4 separate regions of the Homo sapiens genome follow, and regions 1, 3 and 4 are each linked to region 2. The links are contacts of gene promoters, found by promoter capture Hi-C in blood cells and fetal thymus (Javierre and others, 2016). All regions are on one chromosome and are shown on one strand. Each heading gives the region's core, a stretch centred on a gene start or on the middle of the fragment in contact. The rest is flanking DNA. Distances are from core to core; before and after follow the strand shown.

Region 1 (2,700 bases), core at 108-2,607, 590 kb before region 2:
CACAATTATGTAACTTACAGATACATTCAAGTCAAATGCCTAGGGATATACATACTTTTTGAAAAATATATAATAAGTGATAGTATAAAACAAAGTGGGTGAAGGAAGTAGAGAGGCAGAAATTGAATGAGAGAGAATATATTGGCTTAAGAGACACATAATCATCAGATCAGCCATGAGGCACATTTTACAAAACCCAGGCAAAAATCTGGCACCTAACAAAAACGATGAAATATAGAATAGATCCTTAATCCAGCCCTTTCGTTTTCTATTTGCAGATCTTGAAAGGGCTTAATTAAGGGATGTGCCCGAGTCTGGTTAGGGAAGGAAGTGGGATGGAATCCAGGTCTCCTCACACACAACAGGGTTCATTTGGCCCAAGGACCTTTTACTGAGTTTAATAATTTCAGTTCCATAATTCTTTATATAACATCTAAATTAGAAGAAATTGACTTACTGGGTTGTTGAATTAATTTGTAGTGGTTGGAGGGTTTAAGATTATATGTAACTTGCTTTTCTCTTTTCTTATTTTGGTACTCTTCTTTTTCATTTTCGTCAGATTCTGAAGAGCTGCTGCTACTATCATAACTGCTGTCACTGCTGCAGTACTTTGGTCTTTTCATTATCTCAGTACTCTCAGGCATAGAACACAGAGGCTAAAAAAGATGGAAATGTGTTATTTTGTTAGAATTCTTAAAAAAGGTTTATTGATATGATTAGTTACTATTTTTAATTTCCCCCTATGCTTGCTGCTTTTTACTGAAGGTTGAGAATCCCCCCAAATACTATTGCTGCCATGCTGCTTAGCCTACAGTGCTATGCATTGATTGTTGTTTCTGCAAAATATTCTTTCTTAAATGATATAGTCATGATGAGGAATATGTTGTTCCTACATGATTGGAATAAAGGGCCAGAGTATCCATAAACAAAGAATAACAAAATAAAGGGAAAATATTTGAGATAAAAATATAAAAATAAGAAATATAATCAGCTTTTTTCATTCCATAAGAGATTACTCATCAAGACTCAGAGATCTACCTTTGTCTTATCATTAACGTTCAGAGTTACTCAATAAATGTGTATGCATGTGCACGTGCAAGTGCATCTGTGTGTGTATGTGTGTGGTGTGTGTGTGTCTGTGTTTGTGTGTGTGAGGGGGTGGGAGGAGAAAGAGAGACAAAAAGGATAAAGAGAATAAGAATACTAAAACATTGCCTGTGAGCCTATCCATTCAGACAATGTGCAGGAAGAAGTTAGGTATCCCTTACAAGACTAACTGGCTGTGGATATTTATAAAAATAAAATTTTTAGTTAACTGTCCATTTTCCAAACTGCTCAAGAACAACTGATGTCTTTTCTCAGAGTATTCCTAACTCTGGCACGTAGCTTCTGGCCATAATAGAGTGACATAACTTTTCATTGCCCATGCTACATTTTAAAAATTAATAATATAATATGAAGATCAGTATGGGTAAATTTTCATGGAGGAAGGATAAATTTCTCTAATAGAGAATGGAAGATCTGTAAAGACTGAAAATGCCATGCTGTTACGTGTTACCATCCCTATTAGAATCACTTGTTTCTAGTCCTCCCAATCAATGTGTTTCCAATGATGCCAGCTGAAGGAATGGAAGGAAAGGGACGTGGGACAGCTTCACATCAGAAAGAATGTGCATAACCAAGAACAAGACAGTTTTATAACTCAGTCATTCTAAGAGACTATTTATTACACACACCATATGCCTCCTATTCCTGATGGGAGAGGTTCCTTCAGTTGTATACTAGTTGCTTGTTTTCTGTTAAATCAAACAAAAATGTTTTGATGTTAGCATACACTATAATGAAATCCTTGGATAGCATGGGGATTTCACTGAAAGAAGGTATACCCTCTAGTGTAACAGTGTAGAATAAAAATAAAGACAGAAATAGCATTTCATGAAGTGCCTGGAATACAGAGTGAGCCAAAAAGCATGATCTTCTTAAATTTACAGTCTTTGCAAAGGATGAAAAATAACCAAAGCAGGAAAGTAGTTTAATTCACTAAGGTACCAACTTGTGTTTAAAAGCATGTGCTCCTTCTGATGGTCTAATATTTACTAAGTACTGACAATGTTCAAAGAGATATGCATAAAAACATTTACCAGTAACACAATCATCAAACATTTTGACAATCTTGGGGAATATGAATTCTAGAGGAAGGTTGTTTCCTCAGAAGTTTAGCATACCCAGAAGAAAGAGTGGCACAATCAGGCTTGCTAGTAGTGCCTTCCTTCATGTAGCAAACAGCTTTAAGTGTTCTTAAAGAGCTTGACTACATAATGAGTTATTCGACCCTATAAAGAATCACAAGGGGAAACGTACAGCTGAGCCTTTGTGTCTTATATGCACTTGGGACTTTTTGACCAACACACTGTTCAAGCAATAATTAACTAGCAGTCACAGCAACATAAACTCTAAATAGTGTCTTAACTACAAAATGGAATTTGTAAACTGGCATTGAGTTATGGCACAACCATACTACTTATTTTTTATGTCCAATTTTATTATGAAGTAGGCTATATATAAAAAATGTATAAATATATGAAGAATAAACACCCACATGCCTATCACCCAGCTTAATAAAAAGAACATTGCTAATATTTTACTGCAATTACTTTTGCACCAACCTAATACTTCATGTGATATTTATTATTTATGTAG
Region 2 (2,700 bases), core at 26-2,525:
GTTTCACATGTAGCCTGACCTATTGTACCAGAAAGAAGCCAATCCATTTAGGACTGTAAAAATCAGGAAATACTTAGAACAGCACTTGAATGTCAAGTTATTCTATCAACACAGACAAAAGGCTTTTTCTCCCAAAGTACCCCAAGACAAGGCCAATACTAACCAGACGCCAAAATAAGACCAATAATTACCCACAATAATCATTTTCTCCGGCATGCGGACCAGTCGATATCCCCAAGGTCAAATATGAGCAAACTGTGCCATAGGTATGAAATGCACGCTTTGTTCGAGGTTGTACGGGGCACTGACCGGAACTTTACACTCCAGGATCGTTTCGAAAAATGCTTATTCAATCCACAGTTTAAGTTATGCAATAATTCGCTTAAAAGTATGTGTTCAACGGACAAGAGAAGTTGAAGGTAAGAATTTAATACTAAAGGAAGTAGGTTTGGGAAAGATCAAATGGGAGAAAAGTCTGCTCTGAATCAAAAGTCGGAAAATACCCTGTCCGATGAGAAACAGGAGGCTGGCAAAGTGGGAAAGGAAGGGTGCGGACAGCGCGCGGAGGCGCAGCTGTTGGTGAGACCAGCCGAGAAGGCTGCCAAGGGAGGTAGAGACGGAGGAGGACCGGAATGTCGGCCACGGTTCAACCCAGGGGCCAGCCCGCCTCGGAAAGTCCTGGGGCGGAAGGGCGAACTAATCGTCCCCCTAAAACACAGCGTAGACCCACGCGGCGCCTGCTCTAAAGCTGGCCGCTCCCCGATCGCCGCCGCTGAGCGCGCGTCCTCTCCAGGGGAAGCGAGGGCCGGCGCGTGTCCCGCCCGCCCCCGCCAGCTGGGCCGCCGGATCCCACCCGCCGCCGCCGCCTTCCTCCCGCCTCGGCCGCCCGCCCCCGCTCACTTTTACGCGGTTGAGTCCGGCCTCCAGCCGGAGCTGTTGAACCACTTTCTTCATAGCGGCGACGCTGGAGGAGCCAGACATGGTGCACGCGACGGCCGGGCCGATTCGTGGGTCGGTGGGTCGTGGGCCGTGGGTCGGCGGGGCCAGACAACTCAGCGGCGCGCGGCGGGGGCGGGGCTCCGAACTTTGTCTCTAAGTTTCCGGTTCTGTGCTCAGCGGCTCCACCCTCGGTGCGCATGCGCGCCTTGCCAGCCCTCTGTTCCAGCTCCACACCCGGCCCCGAGCGCGAGCCTGGAGGAGGGGGAGGAGAAGGGGCGGAGCAGTCGGTGGGCGCGGCGGCTGCTGGAGGCTAGCGCGACCCGACTCTTAAGTTTTCTTTTCCTCTCCAGAGGGGCCGATTAGGGAGAGGTAAGGAGAGAGCTTACCGTTAGCCGCGAAGAACTAAGAGGGGGTCTGAAGAGGACCAGGGAGGGAAGGCAGAGCTTGTGGGAGTTTCTAAAAGGCCCGGCGGCGGGTGACCAGGAGGTCTCAGTTTTCCTCCCAGTTTGTGGGAAGGGTTGAGGGAAGTGAGGGGAGATACTGGGTGAGGCGTAGGAGCTACTGTGCACCCGGCGTGAGTCACCCGCACACCCCCGCCCCGTACAGGCGTGTCTCTCTGTGACCCGAGTTTGGCCAACAGGCATTTTCAGTTCCACCCCCAACCCCCAGCCCCGCTGACCCGAGGCGGAGAGCAGGCGCGGAGGTCGCTGTCGCGTACCCAGCGGAGCCGGGCGGGCGGGGAGCAGGGGCGCTGATTCGCTGGAGAAGGGATCTTCTCGAGGTTTGACTTTACTGGCTTCTTAGCTCTTGAATCGGTTTTTCTGAAGGAGATTGTGAAGAAGCCAAGGTGCTGGCTGAAGATTACACCTGTCTGCTCGGTTACCCATTTACTCTGGAGAATTAATGCTTATTGTACTTTTTAAAATAAAACTTATTTTTGTGTTTCCGGAAAGTTTGCTCTTTAGTATTTCCGTTGTAATTTATTACCTCCTGCTTGAAATTGAGTACCAAAGGAGTTTTTAGGAGAGAGGGTAGGGTCTAACCAAACAAAATAGGCTCAGCCAGTAGGTCTTTCTTTCATCCACGGAAATATGTGTGTTATGTCACAGCACTAAGGGCAGATGTTTCCTATTTCTTTTCGGGTAGTCAATCTCCGAATGCGCTGATGTTTTCCATTAATGTTAATAATTTTATCATTAATGGATTTCAAATTTTTTATTAGGGAAGCATGTGTAATTGCACTGGTCAACAAAATCTAATTTATTTACTCAACAGTTTATATCAGTTCGCAAAAATGTACATCGTAAGTTTAGCATTTTACTTAATTCATACGGATGTAATGATTGGGGTTAAAACCAGGGTTTGAATTCTGGCTCTGCTACTTACGGTATTCTTGGGCAAGCCACTTAAGTTACTGAGGCTTTATTTCCTTATTTCAAAGTAAATTATACAGCTTCGTAGAGTTGTTTTTCGGAATGAAATGACATTATATGTAAAAAGAATGTGAAAGCTATCTCAATAAATATTGTCTTTTCCCAAAAGGTATTGTAATTATTTCACCTTTGGTGCTTTGTTGACTGTATAATGCTAAAACGTCATTCATACTTTACAGATTTGTAAGATTAAACACAAGTATCTATTCAAAGAATGATCTGTTTTACAGTAGTTGTAAAATATATCACTGAACTCTTAGAACCGTGGTATGTTAATGCTGGAAGAGATTTTAGGGAATATATGGTCCAATAATTACTTCTGTGAGGG
Region 3 (2,700 bases), core at 48-2,547, 550 kb after region 2:
CAGGAGGAGCAGGTATCTGGGGAGAACCAGCAGTTCAGTTTTTAGTGTGTTTTTGAGATGTCTGTAAAGTGCTTCTCAGACTATCTGTTAAAGGGTTAGTTGACTTGGTTTTGTTTTCATTTCTTTCACAGACTAATAATTCTGTAAAATTACAACATAAATAAATTGCTAAAAGAATGAAATAAGGACGTTTGTAATACGAATCTCAATTTTGTTCATACATAACATAAAGTTACTGTGTCAATTTGCTAAAAAGTTTTTAAACACCCAATTTCAGTACTACTTTTATTGCAGCTGGGTAACAATTATTTCATAAACTAGTGGTCTAGTAGCAAATATTTCCTGGCTGGCATTGAAGGAAAGGCCAGGCTTTAGATAACTATGTATTAAACATCCAAGTGGAAATGTCTCGTAGACAGTTGGATACTCAAATCTACTTTTAATAGTCACCAAAGGACAGAAGTAATGTCTATACATTCATTTTGAACAGAATTTTGATTAATTCTGGTTCCACAGCTATTCATTGAGAATATGCCACATTTGAAGCACTATCTGGTTTTTCATGGCAATGCTATGAGGAAGGGACAGATTAAAATCTGTGGGCAATCTGGACAGGCTAGTAATTTGGTATCTGTTCATACTAATACCCCTTAAAAATGTGTTCACTGTTTTTCTAGTGGAAATAGGGAAAAACTGATTTTTGTTAATAAACATATATATTCTTTCTTTACATTTGAAACAACTTATTAAAAACACACTTTTCCAAACTAGACAACTTTTGGGGAGAGTGCTGAACTATTCAAAATATAAGTATCAGGCCGGGCACAGTGGCTCATGCCCATAATCCCATCACTTTGGGAAGCCAAGCCAGGCAGATCACTTGAGGTCAGGAGTTCAAGACCAGGCTGGCCAAAATGGTGAAACCCCATCTCTACTAAAAATACAAAAAAATTAGCTGGACGTGGTGGCACACACCTATAATCCCAGCTACTCAGGAGGCTGAGGCACAAGAATCGCTTGAACTTGGGAGGCTGAGGTTGCAGTGAGCCAAGATCATGCCACTGCTCTCCAGCCTGGGTGACAAAGCAAGACTCCATCTTGAAAAAATTAAATCAAAATGTAGGTATCAACGCAGGCTGAACTCAGGAATGGGAGTATTGCCTTTTGGTTGACCCTCATGATTGGTACTTTTACATGGCAAAATTTTTCAACATAGATTTTATTTCATATCTGAAGCTATTTGGTTGAGAGAAGAATACATTTATGTCTCTCCTGGCATGTAAAAATTTCCCTATGGAAACCCAAACTAACTGACAACCTATTCACAATTCACTACAGGGAAGTTTGGTATCTTTTGAAGAATGCCCCTTAGGGCAGCATTGGTTGCCCTCACCCTTAGTTGTTCAATGTGGTTGCTCTTGCCCTTTATCTGGCCTGGCTCTGATGAAAGCATTATCATCTCAAATTTTGCAGATGAGATTTAGAGAGTTTAATAACTTGTCTAATGCCACCTATGCAGAAAGTGACAAATTTAGGCTTCAACATAATTTCCTTACTTTAAATACAATATTTGAGTGACTTCACTTTAAAAAATATTTAAGTGCTCTAATGACAATAAAAATTATACATGTAGAACTGATATTCACTGGCTTTTAATGCTTTATGATATTGTAGGACTGTCACTACCATACAATGATTCTCCCACCACCAACTATTTCTGGGTGTAGAGAGTTAAGTCTCAGCCATACTGACAAGTAAGTCCACTCTGCTACCACATGGCCCTGTTTTTACCTCCACAGCTCTTGCTTTGGCCCTTCTGGAGATATCTACTGCCTGAAGACTGCAGATGAGTGCTAGAGCCCTGCCTTCTCTTATGGGAAGGACCAGCAATTCTGGAGCCACATGGGGCCTGTGTCCTCCTTAGTCCCCAGTAGACTCAAGCTATTCTGTGCAGTTAAGAATGCCTTTCTCCTGACTTTAATGTTGTATAGATCCTAATTTCTCATTGATGTTCTAGTCCATTTTTTTTTCTAGAATTGCCAAAATTGGCCCTTTCTTCCAACAGCTAAATCTTTGTCCCAGGGTCAGGCTTTTTTGTCTCTTTTTCTCCTTTCTGAAGCTGAGTACTCTTCAGATGATTCTCACTTCCTCATGCAATAGGTTGTGGTAGTTTCCCCAAGTGCTTGGAAAATATGTAGTAATCCCAGCAGTTTAGGGCTCAAACAAGAACATTTCTCCCTTCCAGACATAAAATAGGGTCCTCCACGCCTAGTTTCTGAGCTAACTTTTTAAAAAAATCCATAAAAAGAATGAGTCACTCACCAAAATAACTAGTAAAAATCTACCTCATATCAATTTATCAGATTGTCCTTTTGTAAACCCAATCTGAAACTTATCAAGATGTCCTTAAAGAATCAGAGAAATATTTTCAATTATGACTTCTTGACTCTTTAGATGTTCACTCAATCAATAAAACTAAAACTAATTTTTACATATCTTCAAGTTTCAGGGAAATTCAATTCAACCTCCCCTGGAAAAGCATGGACACATTCACTAGCTACCATGATGATATTTCATTTCTGACCACTCCCATGAAAGAACAGATGGTCAATCAATCATGAATTTGTAACATGAAGAAATTTCTAAACATTTCCAATTTAACTTTTAACTTTCTTGGTATTGTGACTTATGACTCATTCC
Region 4 (2,700 bases), core at 157-2,656, 580 kb before region 2:
GATTTGAGTCACAAGCAATAAGGAAAGGCATTCAGAGTAGAGAACAGAATAAATAATCAGTGAGAATGGGCAAGCTATGTGGGAAAAATAATGAGGCAATCAGCCTAACTAAAACAGTTTGGGTTGGAGAGAAACAGGAAATAAGATAGAACAGCTAAGGTTAAGTTATATTAGAAGCTTAGGCTACATGTTGGTAAACAGAATTCTATTTAGGTTCTTGAGCAGAAAGATAACATAATGAAAGTAAGATCATTCCCAATAGTCTGATTAAAATTAATGTTAAGTAGGGGATTTCTAGATTCACAGAACAATTCGTTCTGTCCAAAATTAAAGCACTCCATAAGAAAATTAATTCTATTTAATAAATAGACAAGAATTTTCCCAGTGTTCTTAGTTCCTGCTTAAGATACTGTGATGTGCCCAGTGAAACTCAAGTCTAACACATGCACCCATGGAGCTCTCCACCCAGCTGGAGGAAGAAGGCACTTCTGAAGCATAAGCCTCATTAGCATATGCTCTAAATGTTAAGAACTGTGCTAAATTCTCTGTGGAACAACACTAAGAAAGATAAAGAAAATGAATTTCTACTTTCCCTTAGTTTTAAGTCTAGAAATTTCTGACTGCTTAAACTATACATACCTCACTTTTAAAAACACCAGAACACCCACAGATAATGTCCTGAATTGATACCATAAATGGCAACGTCAAAAGACATGCACACACAACAAAAAAACTAAACACAAGGCTTATTTAAATAATAATAGTAAACTTTCATGCAAAAAACATGTATAGGCATATTGTTTGGAAACATCTTAAATTTAAAAATTGCTTGGAAGCATACCATAACTCTGCTAGAACTCTTGAATGACAATTAAATAAATTGAAATCATAAAATCACTGAGCTTAAATCACCTCAGAGGCCCTTTAATCCAATACTCTAAGCTCTGTTGGAAAATTTCTAATGACAGGTAACTCACTATTTCAGGAAGTGTTTCAGTCAAACATCTAAAAAATTCATTTTGTAATGAGCCAAAAGCTTTTCCCACATAACAGCATTTCAAATATTTGAATCCCATGATCATGTACACTGCAACCAGCCCTACATCCCTACCAGCCAAGTTTTTTCTCAAATTTTACTTGCCTCTCTAAATGGAAAAGTTAACTCTCACTAAACAACTGCCTCTCTTTTTTATTTACATGGGGAGCATGATGTAATGGGAAGACCTCTGGAGAGAAAGTTAGGAAATCCATGTTTGAGTTTTTTTTTTAATTTCCTGAATGAACTCTTTGTGCTTTAGTTTCTTCTTATAAGATGAGGAAGATAATCTAGAGGGTCTCTTAAAGTATTTACCAATTTAATCTTGTACTCTATATTAAATAATTATACCTACATTGAAATTTAACCTCATTTACTGCAGGTACAGACTGTTGCCTGGGAAGCAGGAAAAGCAGTATACAGGAGTAGGGGGGACAGATTTTTTTTTTTAACTATATGAGTTTAAAGAATAGATGGAATCAAGAAATGAAAAATACAAAATGGATGGAACCAAGAAATGAAAAATACAAAATGGATGGAATCAAGAAATGAAAATTATAAAATATAAAAATAAATATACTATTCTGAAAAGCCAATTTTATGTACAAATGATTAATCTATGTCAAATGTGGAGATAAATGTCCAAAAGATAGAGAGAGTATTTTACCTTATGTTTAGTAGCTTCAACGCATTTAGCAGCACTCCCCTTTTTACATCATAGTCTATTTTCTGATCAGTTCCAAAGCTTGGGGCTCGGTTAATCTGAAATTTACAAAGAAGACAATATTGGAAGGTAAATAAATATTCAATACATATTTGTTAATCCAATGTGGGATCTCTAGCCAGTAGAACAACTCTACATTAAACCTCAAAGCTTTACATGGCAGATGGCCCAGTTGTTATTGCCACATCTCCATTCTGCATCACCCTAGGTCAACAAATTGCAAGGGATTGACTATTAGCACCATCTCCTTCCCAAGGCTGCCTTAGTTTAGGAGCTTTACTGTCAGTATAGGCTGGCCTCTCCCTCCATTCCACTCTCTCCACTACCCCATGCAATTTAGGTTTTTTAAGTTTAGGAAAGTTAAAAGTGATTTAGCCTAACAAAAAGGAAATAGTGATATTCATCATGTTACCAACACAGTAATAATTATATCAACACAATAATAATTATATACATCTATATATTTAAAATATGGAAACTATCAGTGCTCCCTTTTCACTGCCTCAGATCTTCAGGAATTCATTAAGATGAAAAATAAAAGAGCTGGAGTGTTTGTTTTTGTCTTTGTTGAGTCTTGTTACTATTGTCATTGTTATAAAAATATAACTGGAATAGCTGATGTTTAAGAAAATTTCTTAATCAGTTAAATCGGTTGGTTAGAACACTGCTGAGTTCAACACAACAGCTTAGCTTCTTGACCACCAACTAATCCCTTAGGCTATCTCAAACATATGTATATATGCTACTAGTCACAGTTATACACATCTGTCACCACAAGAGACAAAACAATTGAAAGCATTCATTCCACAACTTGCACCTGAAGAAATATCACATTATAATCAAGAAATTACCCAGGAATACAACATCTTTAATTAGAAATGTGTCACAGGTTCACCGCAGAAAAATAAGTAAAACTAAGGAAAACAAATAACAAAAGATA

Evidence for each region. Contacts are between HindIII fragments. The CHiCAGO score rates a contact against its expected background, and 5 or more counts as called.
Region 1: a fragment that was not itself captured here is called in contact with the fragment with the promoter of SPATA1 in region 2 in 2 of 17 cell types (megakaryocytes and erythroblasts); the score reaches 5.9 in megakaryocytes.
Region 3: a contact is called between a fragment that was not itself captured here and the fragment with the promoter of SPATA1 in region 2, in 1 of 17 cell types (M0 macrophages). The highest score is 6.3, in M0 macrophages.
Region 4: a fragment that was not itself captured here is called in contact with the fragment with the promoter of SPATA1 in region 2 in 1 of 17 cell types (erythroblasts); the score reaches 8.4 in erythroblasts.

The regions. Positions count from the first base shown.
Region 1 is chr1:83,910,708-83,913,407 of GRCh38, forward strand. TTLL7 (tubulin tyrosine ligase like 7) reads right to left here. Exons shown (of 21, transcript NM_024686.6): 15 at 458-656. Among named protein-coding and RNA genes, the nearest start is that of LINC01725, 51 kb to the left of the region's middle. The HindIII fragment of the contact is 3,816 bases long and covers 1-2,700 here.
Region 2 is chr1:84,505,111-84,507,810 of GRCh38, forward strand. It overlaps SPATA1 (spermatogenesis associated 1), which reads left to right and starts at 1,276. Exons shown (of 14, transcript NM_001397487.1): 1 at 1,276-1,308. It overlaps GNG5 (G protein subunit gamma 5), which reads right to left and starts at 1,471. Exons shown (of 4, transcript NM_005274.3): 1 at 1,326-1,471; 2 at 901-1,191. The coding sequence starts at 981. RefSeq lists silencers at 737-866, 1,117-1,196. The HindIII fragment of the contact is 7,618 bases long and covers 1-2,700 here.
Region 3 is chr1:85,056,310-85,059,009 of GRCh38, forward strand. No RefSeq gene overlaps it. Among named protein-coding and RNA genes, the nearest start is that of DNAI3, 4.7 kb to the right of the region's middle. The HindIII fragment of the contact is 3,131 bases long and covers 1-2,700 here.
Region 4 is chr1:83,927,433-83,930,132 of GRCh38, forward strand. TTLL7 (tubulin tyrosine ligase like 7) reads right to left here. Exons shown (of 21, transcript NM_024686.6): 10 at 1,704-1,798. Among named protein-coding and RNA genes, the nearest start is that of TTLL7-IT1, 56 kb to the right of the region's middle. The HindIII fragment of the contact is 745 bases long and covers 1,035-1,779 here.